Linked DNA regions of Homo sapiens: regions 1 and 3 are each linked to region 2. The links are contacts of gene promoters, found by promoter capture Hi-C in blood cells and fetal thymus (Javierre and others, 2016). All regions are on one chromosome and are shown on one strand. The core of a region is centred on a gene start or on the middle of the fragment in contact, and the rest is flanking DNA. Distances in the headings are between cores, read along the strand shown.

Region 1 (2,700 bases), core at 201-2,700, 400 kb after region 2:
CTAACACGGTGAAACCCTGTCTCTACTAAAAATACAAAAAAATTAGCTGGGCGCCTGTAGTCCCAGCTACTAGGGAGGCTGAGGCAGGAGAATGGCGTGAACCCGGGAGGCGGAGCTTGCAGTGAGCCGAGATCGAGCCTCTGCACTCCAGCCTGGGCCACAGAGCAAAAGAAAAACAAACAAACAAACTTGTCAGCTCCATCTGCTGTAAGAATTATATGAGTAACATGGAAATGCCTGACTAGACCCTGTTCCCGTTTTTACCCTTAGCCCGTTCAAATCTTCATAAGGATAATTAGTAGCAGTTTGAGTTCTGGGATTCACACTCCAAACTACTGTTTTACTCACCCAGCTACCCTTTTCTGAAATACTACTGAAAACCATACCTGTATCAGTTTACCTCCATTGTTTTACTTGAAGTGAATTCCTGGACCATCAGACATTAGACCAAGGCAAAAAAATAAAAATAATCAATCAACCCTGAGTTTTGGTATTACTACTTTCTAGTCATGGATCTGCCTCCTCATAGGTAAAATTTGCAAAATATTACCCGCCGTGTGTGCCTCAGAACTGTTATGGATTAAGGAAGAGAACAATTTTTATGAAAACGTTTTGTAAATTATACAAGTGTGGGACATAATGTTCCCGGTAACTGTATGCAAACAATAAGACAACAAACGCAAAAGGCTTTTTAACTTGTTGCAGTTTTCCTGCCCCGTGTCCCTCCGTGAATGAGCAGCGTGCAGCGAGCGTGTGCGCACAGCTGCTGTTCTCCATTAACGCCACACTGCTCGGCTTGCGGACGGGGAAACCCGCCATCGCGCTCCTGCCGCCTGCCGAGCGAGGATCACCGCTCCACTGGGGTCAGCGGGCTGTTGACTCCCCGCCTGGGTGAAACCGGAGCTTCCGAGTCACGTGGCGCGCGAAGACAAACCTGGCTGCTCAGGGTTTCCCGGAGCTTTCTCCCAGCTTCCCGGCGATTCATATTCTGGCGCTTACCCCTCCCTTTAGGCTGGCGGAACCCAATCCCCGCCTGACAAATAAGTCCCGCCGGCCGGACGCAGTGGCTCGCGCCTGTGGTCCTAGCTGCTCGCGGTGCTGAGGCGGGAGAATCACCTGAGCCCGGGAGGTCGGGGGCTGCATGGAACCGTGATCGCACCACCGCACTCCAGCCTGGGCAACAGAGCGAGACCCTGTCTCCAAAAATAAGAATAAAGAAAAAAAAAAGAAAGAACTGCGGCCCCATTGGCCTGACTCTCCTGAACAGCCAAACTGTCTCCGACCAGTTACGGAAGAGGCGGCCTTGAGAGGGTAGTGTGCCATTGGCTCGATGTCCTGCCCCTCCGAAACCTAAGTCTTCAGCTTCCAATCAGGACTCAGCTTTGGGAAGAGCGCCACGCGGTGGGCGAGGGGATGCCCTAGTAAATTCGCAGGTCTCTTGACTCTTTCCGCCTTTGTTTACAACCCTGCCATGATCTCCCTCTTGCAAAAGCGAGGGCTACAGAACAGGCATTCAGGAGTCCTGTGCTCCAGTCACAGCCTTTTCTGTTCTTCAGCTAGGAGACACCAAACCCTCAGGAAGATTTACTATAGCTAAGAGAAAACTGCAGCAGAAAGGGCGCGGCTACCTACTTCTTAAATTCCGTTTGTGGACCCTCAGACTCTTAGTCCCCTACTCCCAGATACAGCGGCCCTACCGTGGCTCCTGGCAAGGTGGCATCCACTTTTGTAGTGTAAGGCTGGGGGCGGGGTTTGGCTGGCAGGTCCAGGATACGAGATCCTGGAAGAAAGAAAAGGTGTAGTGTTTGGGGAGGTCAACGGGCTATGCTGGCTTGACAGGGCTGGGCTCTTCAGAACAGGTAATGCTTGGGGGGGGCCTCTTTGTCTAAACCTGAGGGATAGGGCTGAAGGTGAAATATCGAGGGGACAGGTGAGGGGGCTTGCTAGTGAGGAAGGAGTGGGGGGGCGGGGATAATGGAAAAGGGAGCAGAGGAGCCCAGAAACTGTAGGGGGTAGTAAGCAGCCATCATTCCGTTTCTGCAACCCTCCGTCCCACACGCCTTCCTGCAGAAGCATGGATCTCGGAATCCCTGACCTGCTGGACGCGTGGCTGGAGCCCCCAGAGGATATCTTCTCGACAGGATCCGTCCTGGAGCTGGGACTCCACTGCCCCCCTCCAGAGGTTCCGGTAACTAGGCTACAGGAACAGGGACTGCAAGGCTGGAAGTCCGGTGGGGACCGTGGCTGTGTGAGTGTGACGAGTGGGAGTGGGGGTGGGGTTGAGACACAACTCTGTGATAAGAGGCTTCAGCTCCCACTTGGAGACAGGTCTGAAAACAGACCACCCCCAAAATAGACGTAAGTTGTATAATAACTGTCTCCATGCCCAAGAAGTGAAAGGACTGAAAATGAAGCATAAGTCAGGGAGGACTTCCAAAATTCTTCCCTGCACATATATATAACCTTTTCCTACTGTAGGGCCTTCAAGAGAGTGAGCCTGAAGATTTCTTGAAGCTTTTCATTGATCCCAATGAGGTGTACTGCTCAGAAGCATCTCCTGGCAGTGACAGTGGCATCTCTGAGGACCCCTGCCATCCAGACAGTCCCCCTGCCCCCAGGGCAACCAGTTCTCCTATGCTCTATGAGGTTGTCTATGAGGCAGGGGCCCTGGAGAGGATGCAGGGGGAAACTGGGCCAAAT
Region 2 (2,700 bases), core at 165-2,664:
CTCTCTCAGACTAGGAGCTCCCAGAGGGTGGGGAATGTGTCTCCCCTCACCCTGAAGGCCCCTGAGCCTCTAGGCAGACAGGGGCATGGATAGGGTGGGGGCAACTTAACATTCTCTCCACCAGGAAGGATCCTGTTGGAATTAGAATTAAAGATATGAAATGTTCATTGCCTTGGGATCAGGATGGGACAGACCTCAGCGGCAAGGCCTCTGAGAATACTCAGACCAGCCTGGAAAGGTTAGGCAGGTTTCAGGGTGAGGCCAGAGGAGCTATGCCAGAGGCAGGGCATGCCCTGGGCCCATCATGCCAGCCCTGCCTTCACCGAGGCAGGGGGCAGAGCTTTGCTGCTTGGGGCCATGACCCAGGCAGAGTCTTGAGACCCCTGCCTCTTGCACCTTAGTCCTGCTAGAATCCAGGACTTTGCAAAAAAAAAAAAAAATCTCAGGATTCTTTTTGCAGCAACGCCCACATGCACACCTCCTGCTCCTAGGCCTAGACCCCCAAAGAAGGGCCCCTAGACTGAGATATCCAGGGGAGGGCCTCAGAGCAACCCCTGCACTGAGACCTCACAGAGGAACCTGGAGAAAAACCCTTCAGTCGGCCGGGCGCGGTGGCTTACTCCTGTAATCCCAGCACTTTGGGAGGCCGAGATGGGTGGATCACGAGATCAGGAGATCGAGACCATCCTGGCTAACATGGTGAAACCCCATCTCTACTAAAAATACAAAAAAATTAGCCGGGCATGGTGGTGGGCGCCTGCAGTCCCAGCTACTCGGGAGGCTGAGGCAGGAGAATGGCGTGAACCTGGGAGGGGGAGTTTGCAGTGAGCTGAGATCACACCACTGTACTCCAGCCTGGGCGACAGAGCGAGACTCCATCTCAAAAAAAAAAAAAAAAAAAAAAAACCCTTCAGTCAACACTTCAGCACTTCACAGAGAGTTCTTCCAAGGGGGAAGGCCCAGAGAGGCCCAGGTTGATCCCACCAGGGAAGCTGGAATGAGAGAACTGTGGAGACAAAGACAGAGACCCACGGGGATCCTCCCCACCCTGCCCTCAGCAGGACAGAGGTACTCACCAGACCAGGTGGCAGAGACAGACCCAGGAAGGAGAGCAAGGCAGCCAGGCTCCCAGGGTGAGGATTTATATGTGGGCCCCACTGGCCCCCAACTTGGCATTTTAAGGAAACCAAACCTGCCTCAACCTGATCCCACCAAACCCTGGCCTCTTGCCATTCCCACTCATTCCCTCCCAGCCCCCTCCCTCCCAGAGAGTGCCAGCTCCACCACCAGCTGGGGGAGGGCTCTAGGCCAGGTCAAGGGCAGCCCCTGAGCCCACCCAGGCCACAGTGGGAAGTGGGAGGTGTCGTGGGGACTGGGCATCCTGGACCGGGGTGAGGGGAGGCAACCCCTGCTCTGGGGCCTGGAGACTGGTGCCAGGCCTCATTCTCATGACATGCCTGTGAGTCACAGCCCACTCCTGTGTGAGAGGCTGTGAGCACACGCTGAGACTTCATGGTCCAGTGCTCGTGTACATACATGCGCCCGTGTGTGTGAGAGAGAAGCAACCTGGGGCCACCCTTAGGAAGCTGGGGGCCAGAGGAGGCAGCTGGGGGACATCAGGAGGAGAAGGACAGGACTGACTTCAGGGCATGGATGAAGTGGAGTGACTTTTAATGGCCAGCACCAGAATACCTCTTAATGAGGTAATGAGGTAACTAAGTGTGCTTAGAAATACCTGGGAAGGTCCCTCTGTGTAGGAAGGTGTCTGGAAGGATGGGGAAGCAGTGAGAAATGGGGTTGCTCTACACACAGCCGCAGTTGGGCTGGGCCACAGTCTGTGGGGAGCATAAGGAAGTCCCGAGTAGTTAAAGGCTGAACAGGAAAACTTTGGCCTCCTCTTCTCCAGCTTGAGGGCTGGGTGGGTGGGTAGGGGTACATCCCTACCCAAGGCTGAAAACACCAGCTGGACAGCTTCCCAAGCCAGAATCCAGGCCTGAAGCACAGCCCTCAGCCACAGCCCTCTCTCACTGCCCCCCACACACATGTCCTCCCCAGACCCGGAGAAAGGCAAACACTGTGGCCATTCAGAGCCCAGCCCAAGGGAGGGCTGCCCCCTCCCAGGGCCCCTTCCTCCTTGGCCCTTTGTCTATCCCGGCCCGTCTGGGCATCAGGGCACCGCCCTTCCTGTGGCCCCAGCTCCCCTCCCTGCTCCAGCTGTCGAGTAGCTTCTTCCCCTCCCCCAGCCCCTCTACCTCAGCCCTAAGTGACTCACCCGAGGTTCCAGGCCCAGATGCCCAGGCAGTGACTCAGCGGCACACCCTCCTCCCCCAGGGCCAGGGCAGCAGCAGTCCCAGAGCAGTAGGTGGAAGCCCCAGCCCAGCCTGGCAGGGAAAGCACTGGCACAGAGACCCCAAACAGGCCCTGCCAGGAGGAGCTTTGGATAATGACATGGCAGGAGGATCAGACTGAGAACAGGCTGGTCCCTTCCTAGCGGTCACCGTGTGACTTGGGGGCCAGCCTGAGCAGTGTACATGAAGTCAGGCCTTGGGGCCCCCAGTGTCCTCTTCTACACCTTGGCACAGCCACCGAGTGTCCCTTGCTCCCCTCAGTACTTGAACCCCTCATGCTACTTGTCTTCCCATCGAGGCCTACTTCAAGTAGAACTCGGAATAAAAACCCTTCACACTGAGGGTGAGGGAC
Region 3 (2,700 bases), core at 63-2,562, 360 kb after region 2:
TCTCAGGAGGCTACCTGATTTTCCAGGGGACAACAGAGAAAAGGTTGCTAGCTAGCTCAGTTAGCATCCACATGCCACCCACCACCAAGCCTCCATCTCCACCTCACTGCCAGCCCTATGAGCTAACATCTTGTGTTTGGAAGTTGATGCTGGGGAAGAATCCAAAGAGGCTACCATACCTTTATGAAACGGGAAAGCTGTACCGGGCGCGCGAATGGCACCTGAACCTCTGCACTCGCATGAGTGGCTCGCTCCTCAATGTAATTGAGAGCAGGGAGGCCAAAAGTACTCTAAGTCCCGGTGTGGTTAGGGAAGGGTAAGTTCCACCGACCCTCAGGAACTGAACTGGAAGACAGATCCAGTGTGTCCCACAAGCCCAGTCGCTGTAGAAGCTAAGTGCCCACATAGCCTGAGACAATTCTCTTCCCCTACGGGAGGGCGAGCGAACGGTGGACGACGAAATAAAGGGGTAAGGTTATGCGCTCCTGATCCCTTTCCCTAAATAAAGATAATTATCTGGTGCTTCCTTTACCCTTAGATTCCCCATTCGTCCCATCCGCCCGCAAACACAAGACTGAGCAGGGAGCGGCCCCCGCACCCTGAGGGCACCACTGGGGGTGGAGAGAGTTAAAAAAAAAAAGGGGGGGGCGCGCTAGAGAGGAAAGGAGGGGAGCATGGCGGGCATGAGGCAGGGAGTGAAAGCGGGGATGGCGGGGGAAACGGGGCGTGAGGGAGGGGAGAAAGAGTACAAGGAGACGAAATGAAGGGACACGAGCTGGGGGCGCGCGAGGCCGAAGTGAAAGACCGGGTCGCGCGCGCCAAGGGGGGAGAGGATGAGGTGAAGAAGGAGCGCGAGGCGGGGGCGCGCCGTGCCGGGGTGGGGGGAGGGGGACGCAAGGCGGGGGCGCGCGGGCGGGCGTCGGCTCGCGGGCGCTTCCCCTCCCCCCGCCCCTCCACCTTTCCCTTCCCCCACCTCCGCCACCACTGCCTCCTCCCAGCCTCCTTCCCTTCCTCGCTCCTCACCGCCCCCGGGCGGGCGGGCGGCCAGGCTGGCCTAGGCCAAAGCTCCTCACCTGGCGGTGGCGGTGTAACTCCCGGCTAGCTCGCCTCCTCAGGCGGCGGCGGAGGCGTCGAAAAAGGAAGAGGCGACGGCACAGGGGATCCAGACCCTGCTGACGGGACTAGGGACGGGGGTAGGGGAGGGGGGCGGGCCGGACCGGGGCGGGCGGGCGGAGCAGACACTGCGGTACAGACGGGGGCAGCGGCGGCGGCGACGGCTGCACCGGCGGCGGCGGCACCACACAAACAAGGACGCTGATTGGGCAGCTGCCAAGCGCCTCGGCTCCGCCTTACCCACACGCCACGACGCCCATTGGGCGACCTAAGCCGGCCACCCCGCCCTCATCTTCTCGGCCATGCCAGTAGAAGACTAGATGCCGGGACTTCACCCCACCCTTGAAGAATGAGTGGCCGGAGAAGTGATGATTGGCGTGCTTAAAACCCAATCATAAACGGAGGAGGGGGGATGGTCTAGCGGGGGCGCGTTAATGGGTACCTCTGCCAGTCCCAGACACATCCGGGTCTTCGACAGCCCATTAAGTGTCGGGGGTCAAAAAATCGCTTCAGGCTGCAACTTTACCTTAGAGACGTTTTGGTCCCCAGGCAGCCGCCGTACCCCAGTCTCTCCAAACCGGGATTCCCCTTTGGCCATCTCTCATTCTTTCAATTCTAAAGATGGAGACTGGCGAACGGCGATGGGGTCTGCGGTGGGCGGTGTTTCGTCGCGACAGACTCTAGGAAATTTCACGATAGAACTAGCTTTAGGCGCTTGAGCCTTGCCGTCTTTTTGGGGTGTGGCCTGTCTCCGTCTGCCAAAGGCTTTGAGCTTCCTGGTGTTCATCGTACCTCCGCTTGGTCCTGTCGTGACTAAACCACGACAGCAGGAAAAAAAAAAAAGCAGCTAGCCAAGTTGCTGAGGAATTACGGTGTGCAGAGCCCTCGCAGCTCCTTCTCTTGGGAACTCCTGGTCTGGTTAGGTTCTCAGCGAGGAAACAGCCTCCCACCCCGCCCGATTCCACCTAATTAACTCAAGGGCCAGCTCCTTTTGCTGGCCTCCCTGCTTCCACGGAGCAGTTAGGCCCGCCTAAACTCAGCGAGCGTTTCTGGAGCACCTTGAGGATAGGGACCAAGTAACAGAGTCCGGGTGTTAAGGTTATGATAGTAGTTAACGTTTTTGGAAAGAGACTGTGTCAGGCTCTGTGCTAAGAACTTTACATGAAGTATTTATTCCTCATGACTGTGAGGTAGGTACTGTTATCCCTACTTTACAAATGAGGAAAATTAGGATCAAAAAATTTGTCCAGTTACACGTTAAGTGGTAGAGCTGAAATTTGAACCCAAGTAGATGAGGAAACTAAGGCTCAGAGAGGTTAAGTAACTTGCCAAAGGTCAGACCGCTAGTTAGTGACTAAGCAGTGGTTTAAACCCAGAAACAACTGGTTCCACAGGCATTTTGTTATTGTTGTTTTCTCACTGTGTCTCCCAGGCTGGAGTGCAGTGGTACAATCTCAGTTCCTGCAACCTCCGCCTCCCAGGTTCAAACGATCCTCCTGCCTCAACAGCCTCCCGAGTAGCTGGGATTACAGGCGCGCGGCTAATTTTTGTGTTTTTAGTAGAGACGGGGTTTCGCCATGTTGGCCA

The links. Contacts are between HindIII fragments. The CHiCAGO score rates a contact against its expected background, and 5 or more counts as called.
Region 1: the fragment with the promoter of CREB3L4 here is called in contact with the fragment with the promoter of S100A2 in region 2 in 7 of 17 cell types (total B cells, erythroblasts, monocytes and 4 more); the score reaches 6.4 in total B cells.
Region 3: the fragment with the promoter of GATAD2B here is called in contact with the fragment with the promoter of S100A2 in region 2 in 3 of 17 cell types (neutrophils, naive B cells and erythroblasts); the score reaches 6.8 in neutrophils.

What each region holds. Positions count from the first base shown.
Region 1 is chr1:153,966,452-153,969,151 of GRCh38, forward strand. It overlaps CREB3L4 (cAMP responsive element binding protein 3 like 4), which reads left to right and starts at 1,451. Exons shown (of 10, transcript NM_001255978.2): 1 at 1,451-1,713; 2 at 2,071-2,248; 3 at 2,479-2,700. The coding sequence starts at 2,075. It also overlaps a transcript of SLC39A1 not described here. RefSeq lists enhancers at 737-1,593, 1,028-1,247, 1,458-1,567, 1,598-1,717 and a silencer at 1,208-1,709. The HindIII fragment of the contact is 4,469 bases long and covers 1-2,512 here.
Region 2 is chr1:153,564,430-153,567,129 of GRCh38, forward strand. S100A2 (S100 calcium binding protein A2) reads right to left here and starts at 1,415. Exons shown (of 3, transcript NM_005978.4): 1 at 1,077-1,415. RefSeq lists enhancers at 1-529, 530-1,287, 1,407-1,466, 1,440-2,639, 2,337-2,576. The HindIII fragment of the contact is 6,475 bases long and covers 1-2,700 here.
Region 3 is chr1:153,921,660-153,924,359 of GRCh38, forward strand. GATAD2B (GATA zinc finger domain containing 2B) reads right to left here and starts at 1,313. Exons shown (of 11, transcript NM_020699.4): 1 at 1,074-1,313. It overlaps LOC101928059 (a long non-coding RNA gene), which reads left to right and starts at 1,714. Exons shown (of 4, transcript XR_922160.3): 1 at 1,714-2,303. RefSeq lists silencers at 1,097-1,416, 2,094-2,388 and an enhancer at 1,547-1,786. The HindIII fragment of the contact is 8,959 bases long and covers 1-2,700 here.